2 separate regions of the Homo sapiens genome follow, and region 1 is linked to region 2. Evidence: promoter capture Hi-C in human tissues and cell types (Jung and others, 2019). All regions are on one chromosome and are shown on one strand. Each heading gives the region's core, a stretch centred on a gene start or on the middle of the fragment in contact. The rest is flanking DNA. Distances are from core to core; before and after follow the strand shown. Region 1 holds the start of MEX3D (mex-3 RNA binding family member D). Region 2 holds the start of EFNA2 (ephrin A2).

Region 1 (6,296 bases), core at 3,379-5,878, 280 kb after region 2:
TGCCTGTCTCCCAGACAGGGCTGCCTCCCCTCACCCCCAGCCCTCAAGCTTTGGAATCTGAAATTTTCTTTGCTGACCCACCAGAGAAACTGGGTTTGAATCCCAGCCCATGATTTTTGTTTTGTTTTGGAGACAGGGTCTTGCTTTGTTGCCTAGACTGGAGAGCGGTGACAAGATCATAGCTCACTGCAGCCTCGACCGCCCAGGCTCAAGTAATCCTCCTGCCTCAGCCTCCAGAGTAGCTGGGGCTGCAGGAGTGTGCCACCATGCCTAATTTTTGTATTTTTTTTTTTGTAGAGACAGGGTTTCGCCATGTTGGCCGGGCTGGTCTCGATTCCTAGGCTCGAGGGATCCTCCTGCCTCAGCCTCTCTGAGTGCTGCTATCCCCTCAGTTTTTACCTATTCTTTACCTCTTGCAGCCTCTGCCTCCCCATCTGTGACCTGGGAGCTGCAGGACCTTTCCTGGGGCACATTATGGGCCTCAGTGAGATGGGGCAGGTCAAGTCTGGCATAGGCTTAGCACACAGTAGACCCTCAATAAAGATCTAGCCAATGGCCAGGCGCAGTGGCTCACACCTGTAGTCCCAGCACTCTGGGAGGCTGAGGTGGGTGGATCACCTGAGGTCAGGAGTGTGAGACCAGCCTGGCCAACATGGCGAAACCCCGTCTCTACTGAAAATACAAAAACCAGCTGGGCATAGTGGCACGTGCCTGTAATCCCACATACTAGGGGGGCTGAGGCAGGAGGATCGCTTGAACCTGGGAGGTGGAGCTTGCAGTGAACCGGGATCGTGCCATTGCACTCCAGCCTGGGCAACAGAGCGAGACTCCATCCCAAAAAAAAAAAAAAAAAAAGATATAGCAAATGAATGAACTGGAGCCTCCAGCAGATGGGTGGGAACTCAGAGGGTTTGAATGACCACAGTCTGCCCAGAAAGCACTCGGACCCCCTCTAGGATCAAGAGAACTGAAGCTCAGAGAACAGCACGTAGCTACTGGGGAGAGGGCTGGTGCCAGGCCTGTGTGACTCTTGTCTAGGTGGGGAGGCCGGACAGGTGCACCCTTCCTGGCCTCCAGGGAAGGGGTAACCTTGGAGCTTGGGTTTGACAGAGAAGCATGAGAAGTTCAGAGAGCCCCAGGGTGGAGAGGAAGGTGAGTAAAGGGGCAGGGCCGGGGCACAAAGGACATTGAAAGGTATGCTTGAGAACGGGGTGGGTGGGAGAAGCTGGGAGCCACAGATGGTTCTACAGTGTGGAAGAAGTACAGACTACCGAAGCTGTGGAAGACGTAAGGACTACTGAAGCTGCCAACCTGTCCTGGCATCCACAGTTGCATCCCTGGCAACGCGCACTCCACTTATGGGGTGGCCACTGTGTGTGACCTGGAGCTGGGATTAAAACCAGCAACTTGGGTCCAGGCATAGTGGCTCACACCTGTAGGAACCCCAGCACTTTGGGTGGCTGAGGATCGCTTGAGGCCAGGAGTTCAAGACCAGCCTGAGCAACAGAGCAAGACCCTGTCTCTACAAGAAAAACTTTATAATAAAAACAAATAAATAAAACTGGCCGTGCGCAGTGGCTCACGCCTGTAATCTCAGCACTTTGGGAGGTGGAGGTGGGCGGATCACTTGAGGTCGGGAGTTCGAGACCAGCCTGGACAACATGGTGAAACCCCGTCTCTACTAAAAATACAAAAATCAGCTGAGCGTGGTGGCTCACACTTGTAATCCCAGCTACTCAGGAGGCTGAGGCAGGAGAACTGCTTGAAACCAGAAGGCGGAGTTTGCAGTGAGCCCAGATCACGTCACTGCACTCCAGCCTGGGCGACAGAGCGAAACTCCGTCTCATAAATAAATAAATAAAACCAGCATCTTGCCCCAGAATCCTCTACCCTAATGGAGGTGAGACGTCCGCACATCACAGAGAGGGGCCGTCATCTGCGCAGGGCCACGGCGGCCTGCAGGACAAGCAATCAGGGCCCACTCTACCCCCGACCCCCACTGTACCCCAGGGCCTGCCTTGCTGACGGCCACCAGCAAGAGCCCAGTAAGTGGGTGCAGAACGCACAGGCCAGAGGTGGGGGCTGAGCCTGGTGCCCACAGACTCCATTTCCCATGGACCTGCCCCTAGAGAATTCCCACCCTGAGGCCACAGGTCTAGAAGCTCTCAGCCTGACGCTGATTCCTGCCAGCTCCCCATGTGGCCATAGCCTCGCTCAAAGGCCCTTGGGTGCCAGGACAAGCGCGTTCACAAAGAACACAGCCACAGCCTCCACCACCTGGAGGCTCAGGCTCGTGCCTTTGGTCACTTGGTCCCCAGGCCTCGGCTTGGACGCCTGTCTCCACAGGCTCCCAGACACTCCGCACAGGGCAGCTGTCCCGTTCTAGGCCCTGGGTATGGGACATGGAGGCCGGGTGGAAGGCCTCAATGGGGAGGCAGTAACAGGATGGTAGGGCGCCCTCCTGCCAGGGGGTCCCACCAAGGGCAGCCAGCAGGACTGAGACAGAACCCAGTCCCTCCCCACCCACCACTCCAGAGCATGCTTCCTGGGGCCAGCACCATGCCTGACCCTCCGTGGGTCCCCACATGAGCTGGACAAATGAACGACCAAAAGACAGGAGGCTGTGGTGCCCCACCCACCTGGACCGAGGGAAAGGGCGGAGGGGAGGGCGCCCTGGTGGTCCCCCGCCTGAGGCCAGGGCCATAGATGACCTTGCAATCCCAGCCCCCCACACCTTTCTCTGGCCTGGATTCCCGAGGGCCCCGGGGAGGCAGGGACCCCCAGCCCAAGTGTCCTGCGGCCCCACCACCAGCCCCGCCAAGGCCCCACCCCAAGTTCTAGAACCTGGCTGATCACTGGCGGTCAGCGGGGACCCAGGAGCGGGGAGGGGTGGCGGGAAGGCAGGAGAAAGTTGAGGGAGGCAGGCGGGCGGGTGGCTAACGGGGTGGTGGGTGTGAGCTGGGCCAGGCACTGCCCACCACCCGCCCGCCCGCCCCGCAGCTCGGGGGCCAATGAGCAGCGGCCGGCCTGATGTCACCCTGCAAATCTCAGCCTCGCTCTCTAACAAAGAGAACAATGGGGCGGCCAGAGGGAAGCTCCGACGATGCCACCGCTGGACCCCACACCCGGGGCCTGCCGCCCGCCGGCCTGCCCAGCAGGCTGCACCCCAGAAGTGGCTTTGACAGCCGGTCCTTCCCCAGGCCCCGAAATCCCTGACTCGGGGCCAGAGAGTGGAGCAGGGACCCTCTCCTGCCCGGTCCCGTCCCCACCCCAGTCAGGGCCCCAGGCTGGAGACTGAGACGTGCGCTCTTTGTACTGTCAGCCTTCTCTCCCGGTCCTGCAGGCGGCCCCCCTAAGCCACCCCTAAACCTGCGCTTGCCCCGCCCCGCCGCCTGTGCTGGGTGTGGGGCGCCCCCCGCCCGGCCGGAGCCCCGGGCCCTCGAGCCCCTCTCTGGGGTGCCCCTGCGGGCGGCCGAGGGCCTGGGCTGCGGCGCGGCTCCCCGGAGCCTTTCCGGGCTGGAGGCGGCCCAGACAAAGGCGGCGGCGGGGCCGGAGCGCGCAGGGGAGGAGCGCGGGCTGCGCCCAACTTTCTCCCGCGGCGGCTGCAGGACAAAGGCGCAAAGGCAGCGGCCGAGGCCGGAGCCCACGCGGGGCGTGTCCGGTGCGGGGCGTCCGGCGCGGGCTGGGCTGGGCTCGGGCGACCCCCTTCCCCGGGGCGGACGGTGCGGGGACCCCCAGGACAGCAACCCCCGACGAGGGCCACTCACCCTGGCGACCCACGATCTCGGCGACGTGCTCGGAGCTGGGCACCGGGACGCACTCGGTCATGTTGACGCTTTTCTTGCGGCTGCCGATCACGCTCATCTGGTCGGCCAGCAGCGTCGGGGGCCCCAGGGCCGCGGGGTGGGGCGCGAAGCCCGCGAACACGTCGGGGGGCGACGGCCGGGGCGGCGGCGGCGGCGGGGGACTCGCGTTGGGGTCCAGCAGCGGCAGCGACCCGGGGGCCACGGCGGGGGCCAGGGTCGGGGGCGCGCCGGCCTCAGGTCCGTCGGGGGGCACAGGCTCCGGAGCCGCCCCGCCGTCCGCGCCCCCCGCCGCCGCTGCGCCGTCCCCGGCCGCCCCCTCCTCGTCCGTGTCGCCAGCGCCCCCCAGCCCGAGCGCCGACAGCTGGTCCAGCGCCAGGCGGAGCGCGGCGGCCGCGTCGTCGGGTTCGGGCGGCGGCCGGGGCGCGGGCGCGGCCTCCTGGGCGCCCTCGGGCGGGGGCGCAGGTCCGGGTCCGGGGTCCTCCCCCGCCGCCCCCACGCCGCCGCCGCCGCCGCCCCCGCCCCCGCCGCCGTCGGGCTGGCCGAGCGAGCTGGGCATGGCGGGAGCTAGCGCTGGGGCCCGCGCTCCTGCCGCCCGCGCCGCCGCCGCCGCCCGCGCCGCCCTCCGCCTCTGCGAGCTGGGCCGCCGGCCGCCTGCATCCAGCGGCGGGGGCGGGCACGGGGGGCCGGGCGGGCGGGGCGGCGGCGGCGCGGGGCTGCTCGGGGCCGGGCCGGGCCGGGCCGGGCGGCGGCAGCGACTCTGGCTGCGGCTCGGCGGCGGCGGCGACGGCGGCGGCGGCTCCTCGGCGGCCGAGGCGGCGGCGGCGGCGCGGGACGCTCCTTCCCTCCCGCCGCCTCCCGCGGCCCCGCCCCGGCCCCGCCCCCGCGACGTCACGCCGCGGCCCAACAATGGGCGGCCCCCAGGGCGCAGGCGCGCGGGGCGGGGCCGGGGCGGGGCCGGCGCCGGGCACGTGGTCCAGGCCCCGCCTCCGCCCGGCGCTCGGGCGGGAACCCGGGCGCATCCGCACGTGCGGGCGCTGCTGCAGGTGTGTGCGGCTCAGCCCCTGCCTGGACAGCGCTCCCTCCCCAAGCCTGAGAGTCCCTGCCTCGCGCGCCCCAGGGCCCGAGGTCCCGCTCCCCAATTTCCCCTAGAGATCCGGGTCGCCCCCAAGCGAGGTCTCTTGCTCCACGCCCGCTTCCTTGTGCCAGGGACCCCCACCTCCCTGCATAAAGGCGTGGGGTCCTCTCCAAGTCCCCCTCGCGATCCCACTGGACTTCGAAGTCAGGCTCCTGCCCGCCCACCGCCTCTGTGCCAGGGTCCAACCCCCGCCCCACGGTGCACCCCCCAGGGCCTGGGGTCCCAGTCCCCAAGTACCCCTTGCTATCAGGTGGGCTTTAGGGTCAGGCCCCTGCCCCACCCCCAGCCTCTGTGCCAGGGACAGCTCCACAATCATGCACACCCCAGGGCCTGAGGTCCCTCTCCCCTAGTCTCTCCTAGCTCCCCTCTGGCTGGCTCCCGGCTTTGGGATCAGGCCACCTCCTCCACGCCACCTCCTCCGCCCCACCCAAGGCCACAGACCCGGTCTCTGTGCCCCCAGCCAGAGACCTCTCTACCACAGTGGTGCTTCCATGGCGAGGGCAGGCTCACACCAGCCAGAACCCTCCATGTGGAGCCCCACCCTCTTCTGGGGTGCCTTTCCCCGCAACGGGCGTTGTCCACCTCTAAAGCCACCCTTGCCGGGCGCGGTGGCTCATGCCTGTCATCCCAGCAGTTTGGGAGGCCGAGGCGGGTGGATCACGAGGTCAGGAGTTAGAGACCAGCCTGGCCAACATGGTGAAACCCCCGACTCTACTAAAAATACAAAAATTAGCCAGGCGTGGTGGCGCGCACCTGTAATCCCAGCTACTCAGGAAGCTGAGGCAGGATAATTGCTTGAACCCTGGAGGTGGTGGTTGCAGTGAGTCGAGATTGCACCACTGCACTCCAGCCTGGTTGACAGAGCAAGACTCCTCTCAAAAAAAAAAAAAAAAAAAAAAAATAGCCGCTTTCCCAGCGGCTCTTCCTCCAGCTGTCCTTCGGGGCCTTCCTTGCACCTGTGGGGTTTTTTGTGATAAACCTGTCTGGCTGGGTCTACCTGCCCCCCTCTTCTACCAGACCTGTCCCTGGCTGGCTGTGCAAACTTGGACCGAAGGCAGGGCTCTCTGGGCAGGAGTGGGGCAGCCTGCCCCTTTGCCTAGCAAGGCTTCTCCTCTGTCCCCTCCCCCCGCCTCACACACCCTGGGTCCCCCTCAGCCACTCTTCTAGTCCCTCAGCCACAGCCACCCACTGCTGGGCCCTTCACTTTTGGTGGCTTCTCTGCCCACTTCTTCCAGGCAGGCAGGGTCAGGATCCCCCTGCCTGGAGCCCTTCCCCACCCAAAATCTCTCTCCTGACCCCAGGCTGCATCCAGCCCCACTTCCCCTCCTGGGGTCCTGGACTTCTCTTTCGTGCAC
Region 2 (6,123 bases), core at 3,426-5,925:
AGCTCCTAACCCCACGCCGGGGAGTGTCTCAGACCCATGCCCCCCACCCTTGCCCCTCGGTGTGCCCACTGGACAAGCAGCATATCAGGTCTGTGCCTCTGGGTGGGGGGGGGTGGGGGTCTCTGCTTCAGCAGCGGGCCCCGCCCAGGCTGGAGTCCAGTGGACTCACTGCGGGGCTTCTCCGCTTGTGAAATAGGGGCGGGTGGGCGCTGGGGACGTGGCCTCAAAGGCGGGATGCGTTGGGTTCCTTGCGGCGCCGGCTTGTGCCCACAGCTTGGGGCCGACATTCATCCTGGGGAGATAGAGACAGGGCTCCTCTGCCGCCCTGGTGCCGGGGTGCCCCAGGGATGTGGCCCCATGTGCCAAATCACAGTCACTCGGGTTGGCAGGCGACGGAGGGCTCTCTGCCTCTTCTGGGGGTGCTGAGACCCCTGTACCCTCGACTCCCCACCTCCAGGGATCTCACCCCCAGGTGCCCATCTCCTCTGTGGGGGGCCTGAGCCACCACTGACCCCACATTAAGGCCACTGACGTCCCCGTCCTAGGCCAGCCAGCCCCTGAGAAGCACCCAGTGCTTTGCTGTGGGACACAAAGCCACACATGGCTATTCACGTTATTTCATTAAGTTACATAAAACTGGAGGTCCAGGGCCTCAGTCACCATGGGGAGAGGTCCTCAGTCGCCATGGGGAGAGGTCCGGGTCCTCAGTCGCCGTGGGGAGAGGTCTGGGGCCTCAGTCACTGTGGTGGACAGCGATTGGTGGGGGCAGGGACATTTCCTTTGTCTTGGAAAGTTCTGGACGCTGGTGGTGTCTGGACACTGGAGAACGGGTCTGTGTTCAGGCCCCAGACCTGAAGGTGGGATGAGGGAGAGAGGAAGGAGGAGGAAGGGGAGGAGGGAGGGGACAGAGTGGGAAGGAGAAGGATGTGAATGGAGAGGAAGGATGGGAGGAGGAAGGAAGGAAGGAGGGAAGGGGAGGAGGAGGAAGGAGAGGAGGGTGCAGAGGATGGGGGAAGGAGGGGGGAGGAGGGTGTGAAGGGGAAGGAGGGAGGAGGGAGCGGAGGACTGAGAAGGGGAGGAAGGTGTAAAAGGAGAGGGAGAGAGGAAGGAAGGGAGGGGGTATTAAGGGGGAAGAGAGTGGGAAGGGGGAGGAGGGAGGGGAGGGTAGTATGAAGGGGGAAGGAAGGAGGGAGGGGAGAAGGGTGGGAAGGGGAGGAAGGAGAGAGGGAGGGAGGGGAAGGTGTGAAGGGAAGGAGGGAGGGGAGGTGGGAGGGAAGTAGGGAGGGGGAGGGAGGGGAAAGGTGTGAAGGGAAGGAGGGAGGGGAGGAGGGAGGGAGGAGGGTGTGAAGGGAGGAGGGGGAGGAGGGTGGGAGGGGAGGAGGGAGGGAGGAGGGTGTGAAGGTGTGAAGGGAGGAGGGAGGGAGGGGAGGAGGGAGGGAGGAGGGTGTGAAGGGAGGAGGGAGGGAGGAGGGTGTGAAGGGAGGAGGGAGGGAGGGGAGGAGGGAGGGAGGAGAGTGTGAAGAGAGGAGAATGGGAAGGATGGGAGCTGGGGAGGAGGGAGGAGGGTGAGCTGGGAATGGGGCTGTGTGCCTGCTCTTTTCCACCACTGGCTGCAGGGGTTGCAGGAATCTTGGGTCCATGGCTGGATGGGGGTGGGGATTTTCATGTTACCCACTGGAGAAAGGGATACATTTTTATTTTCAAGGACAGCGACCCAGCCCAGGGGAAACGCCCCTGGCCCCTGGGGCTAAGCGCAGACCCCAGCTCCGTGCTTCGCAGGTGGGGGGCGATGGACAGCGGTGGGGCTCCCGCCCTGAGTGGAGCCTGTGACCTGCCCGGGCCCCAGCGCCCCGTGACCCCTGCCGCCTGATCCTTGCCTGGCTGAGATGGGGCTTCTGAAGGCTGCCGGCACCAGGGCAGGCAGCGCATTGGGTCCAATTTATTCTGTAATGAGAAATTCTCCCCGCATATTTTTAGCTTCCTCCTGGCGTCGCGGCCTTTGAAGGCTGAGGGGCTGCGGGACGCTGATCCCAAGCCCTGTGGCCTGGCCATGTGGGCAGTGGGTGCTGGGCACGGGCTGGACAAGTCCCTTCCTGAGTCTGGGTAGACCCCAGTCCCAGCAGTGCAGAGCAGGGGGCGGGGCCAGACCCCATCAAGCCCTGTACTGGCTCCAGACCAGGGACTGAGGGCGACCCTGGATAACCCCTGACCTTGGCGGACACCTGTTCCCAGAGTGAGCCTGATTTCTGACCCTTGGCTCCACAGGAAGCTTACTCTAGAGTGACCTCCGGCCGCGGCTGCGTCCCAAAGCCGGGACAGCTCCCAGCCCCAGGAGGGAACAGGGCTTCTTGGACCCCCACAGTGGCCCCCCTGCCAGGCAGGGGTTTGCCGGGGCAGCCTCGCCCAGGGCCAGGCCTCGGAGACGCCCTGCCCTCCCCTCCCTTCCCCAGGTCCTTCCTCTAGGAGCGGCCAGCGGGCGCGGGGAGGTTGAATGGGGGACGCACCGCCTTTGTTCCCGTCCCTGCTTGGGCTCTGACCTTGAGAGAGACAAGAACAGAAGGAAAACGGAGCTTCTGCTCAAATCCGTTCAGCGGTGGCGGTGGTGGCGGCTCTCGCCTCGGTGGCCCCTGCATGCAAATGAGTGGCCCTGCCATGCCTGGGTGGAGGTGGTGCCCTTCCAGCTCCCACCTGTGCAGGTCCCAGTCCTGGTTTGAGAAGAGACCCCCTCCTCCCGACCCTGGCCCACCCCTCCTCACCCACGAGATCCCTTGAAGCAGGAGGGGGCTTCTGGTCCCAGGGTAGAAGGAAGCTTCCAGAACTCCCACCTTTGCCAGGTGGCATGCTGGGGCCGGGCACGCCAAGACCCCAGGCTCACGGCCCCTTGTCCTGTGCTTGGGTGCAGCCGCCACACTCTGCTCCGAAAGTGCTCACCTCCGGGAGTGGCCGTCCCCCTCCCTAAAAGAGCCCCCCACCAGACGGAGCCGCCCGGGAAGCTTCTCCAGCCTGTCTGGGCTACAGAGCCTTGTGTGGCTAGAACCCAAGGCCCTCACTCCAGGGGTGCTGAGAGAGCCTGTCCAGAGGGCCTGCCTCAGCCACCACCTGGGACAGGTTCACGCCCTCCACTGAAGAGACACCCGGCCAGCCCTGGGCCTTCGACCTGGGACGTCTGTAGTGGGGTCAGGGGATGAGACCTGGAGCTCAGAACAGACGGGCTGAGCTCCCTGGAGGAGAGAGAACTGAGAACCTTGTCCTGGCAGGGACGCTAGAGCACTGGGTGGGACAGACCTTTCTGGAAGAGCAAGATTTTAACAGGAAGAAAAAGTGGAAGGACTTCCCAGCAGGACCCAGCCTGAACAAAGGTCAGGTGGTGTGGCCCGCGTGGCCCGCTGGGGAATCGGGGGAGGAGGGCACGCAGGAGACACAGGACAGAGCCCACCACGTCTCAGAGCTGTGGGACGGTGGTGGGTCCGGTCCCCACCCCACCTTGCTGGGGCACAGGTTAGCTTGCCCATCTCTGGGTTCACGGTCCCTGCCAGGAGTTTGGGTAATGCCTCACACAGGGACCTTCGGGTCCAAGGGCTGTTGGTGCTTGCCCTGCAGTTCCCTCTCCTGCACTGGGCCTGGTGAATGACACTAATTCAGAGACGTACAACACGATCTGGGCATCGCCAGCAAAGTCCAGCCAGCGTTTGATGACAGCCTACCCTCCACAAGCTCAGAGTCTGGTGAGGGAGGCTGTGGCATGAATAAGGGCAAAAACAGAGGGCAGGCCAGGTGCAGTGGCTCACGCCTGTAATCCTAGCACTTTGGGAAGCCCAGGTGGGAAGATCGCCTGAGCCCAGGAGTTCAAGACCAGCGTGGCCAACATGGCCAGACACTGTCTCTATAGATTGGAAAAAAGACAAAGCAGAGGCCAGGCCCCCAGTTCCCCACCTGTGTCAGCCTACCAGGAGGAGAAATCACTCGGCGTTCCCTGAACAGATCAGACCCCGGGTCTTTGCACAAGCTGTGCCCCCGGGCAGCGGCCCTCCCCTGCCTGCAGGATTCGTGCGTGGAGACTGATTTGCTGTCGGCCGGGGCTTCACTCTGGGCTTCTTGGATCCCATCCCCAGCTGCTCACACTCCACATCGGTCCACCTACTATGCTCCCGGCACCCTTAGGGCTGAGGTGTAGGGACTTACTCCATCCCCAGGGAACAGCGTGGGTCCGGAGAGGCGACTCCCAGGAGGGCCCCAGGGAGGTCGCAGCCCGAGCAGCTTTGGACTTTGGCCAGCGCCCCTCTGAAACTCTGCCCCGGCCCCCGCAGGGAGACTGGAGTTGGCCGAGCCCGATTTGGGACGCGTGCGTCGGGGTTGGTGAGGCTGCGGATAGCGCTGGAACCGGGCAGGTGAGAGGCCCGGGACCCAGGGCCGGGCCGGGTGGAGCGCGTGGGGGCGCGGGAGGCAGGGTGCGCCCCCGCCCCTCGGAGACCCCAGGCCGGGCCACGCGGATGCCGGCGGGGGGCGCGCAGAATCGGGGTCGCTGGGGGCAGGCCCCGGGGGACGAGCCTGAGACGGGGTGGGCCGGGGCAGGGGGCGGGCGCAGGCTGGAGACCCCCGCCCAGTCCCCGCGCGGCCGGGGCACGGCGGGAGGGGGCGCCCGCGGCCCTCCCGACGCTCGGGCGGGACAAAGGCCGGAGCCCGGGCCCCTCCCCGGCGGGTGCGGCGGCGGCGGCCCGCGCTCCGACAGTCCGCGCGGCCGGGTCCTGCGCCCGGGGCGACCCCGGCGCCCCGCCCCGCCGCCGCCTGACTTCTCGGCGCCCGAGGTCGCGCGCGCGGAGGCGGGGGCGGCCCGGGATCTCCAAGCGCCGCCGCGCCCTCCTCCCGCCCGCCCTCCGCCCGCCCGCTCGGCGGCGGCGGCGGCGGCGGAGGAGGCGGAGAAGGCTGGCAGGCGGCGGCCGGGAGAGCGAGCGCGGCGGCCGGACCGGGGCCATGGCGCCCGCGCAGCGCCCGCTGCTCCCGCTGCTGCTCCTGCTGTTACCGCTGCCGCCGCCGCCCTTCGCGCGCGCCGAGGACGCCGCCCGCGCCAACTCGGACCGCTACGCCGTCTACTGGAACCGCAGCAACCCCAGGTGAGCGCGGCCGCGCGCGGGGGGCGCCCGGGGACCCCCCAACGCCCCCCAAGCCGCGCCCGGCCTCGCGCCCCCGGAGCTCCGGGCGCCCCCCACGCGCGCGCCGCCGCCGGGATGCGGGCGCCCGGTTCCCGCGGGAGCCCCCCAGGGAGCTCCGGCCCCCCGGAGTTTGGGGGACTCGCCCTTTTCGCGCCTGCCTTCCCCGGGGCGCCCCATTGCCCTACGGACTGTGGGGACTCGCGCCCCACATCCCCCAGAGCGCCGACGTCTCCTGGAGTTTGGGGAACCCCTCTGGTACCCTCCGATGCCGGGTAGCCCCTGAGTTGCCTGCCTGGACTTGGGGGGACCCCTGATCCACCCGCTTCTCTGGGGAGCCCCCTCGGTTTCGCATTTGGTGGGGATCCCCGGGGACCTTGGCACCGGAGGTGGGGGACTGTGGCCCTCGAGGGATCTCTGGGTTCGTCCTGCCCGCAGGTCCCCAGATGAACTTGGGGAAGTTGGAGTGTCCCTCCCTCAGGACCCAGCATCTGCTTCACTCCAGGGGGCCAAGGGCCCAGCTTTGAAAGGAGACTGAGGGGCCGGGGAGCTGGGGGTCAGCCCCGGGAGGGGCAGTGGGATGGAGTCCTCTCTTGTCCTCTGGGCGCTGACCAGGAAACTGAGGTGCAGAGGGGATGAGGAGCTGGCTCAAGGTCATGCAAGGGGGGGACTTGGGGGCAGGACCCAGGTGGCCCAGTGCCCTGCCTGCCACGCCCGGCCGAGATGCCGCACCCGCCTGCTGCAGGCCCCCTTGTTTTGAACCAGGTCCGGGCCAGGCACAACGTGGGGGACAGGAGAAGCCCCCGTTGGTCAGAGCAAAAAAAGTTTGCCGGGGCCTGGCCATGGCCTGGACGTGGGTAGAACCCTCTGAACCATCCCAGGGTCTCCAAGACAGGAGCAGGCTGCAGCTTCCCTGGGGGTCCCGTGGGAGCCGGGGCTTTGGGGGTCCTGGGGCTCGGGAGGGAGTCAGCCCCAG

What was found. Contacts are between HindIII fragments. The study calls those that stand out against the background at their distance.
Region 1: the fragment with the promoter of MEX3D here is called in contact with the fragment with the promoter of EFNA2 in region 2 in 3 of the 25 tissues and cell types used here (dorsolateral prefrontal cortex, lymphoblastoid cells and spleen).

The regions. Positions count from the first base shown.
Region 1 is chr19:1,563,697-1,569,992 of GRCh38, forward strand. It overlaps MEX3D (mex-3 RNA binding family member D), which reads right to left and starts at 4,629. Exons shown (of 2, transcript NM_203304.4): 1 at 3,768-4,629. The coding sequence starts at 4,362. RefSeq lists silencers at 4,629-4,818, 4,859-4,908. The HindIII fragment of the contact is 18,806 bases long and covers 1-6,296 here.
Region 2 is chr19:1,281,198-1,287,320 of GRCh38, forward strand. EFNA2 (ephrin A2) reads left to right here and starts at 4,676. Exons shown (of 4, transcript NM_001405.4): 1 at 4,676-5,111. The coding sequence starts at 4,972. RefSeq lists enhancers at 1,390-2,236, 3,760-4,260, 4,261-4,761. The HindIII fragment of the contact is 32,397 bases long and covers 2,540-6,123 here.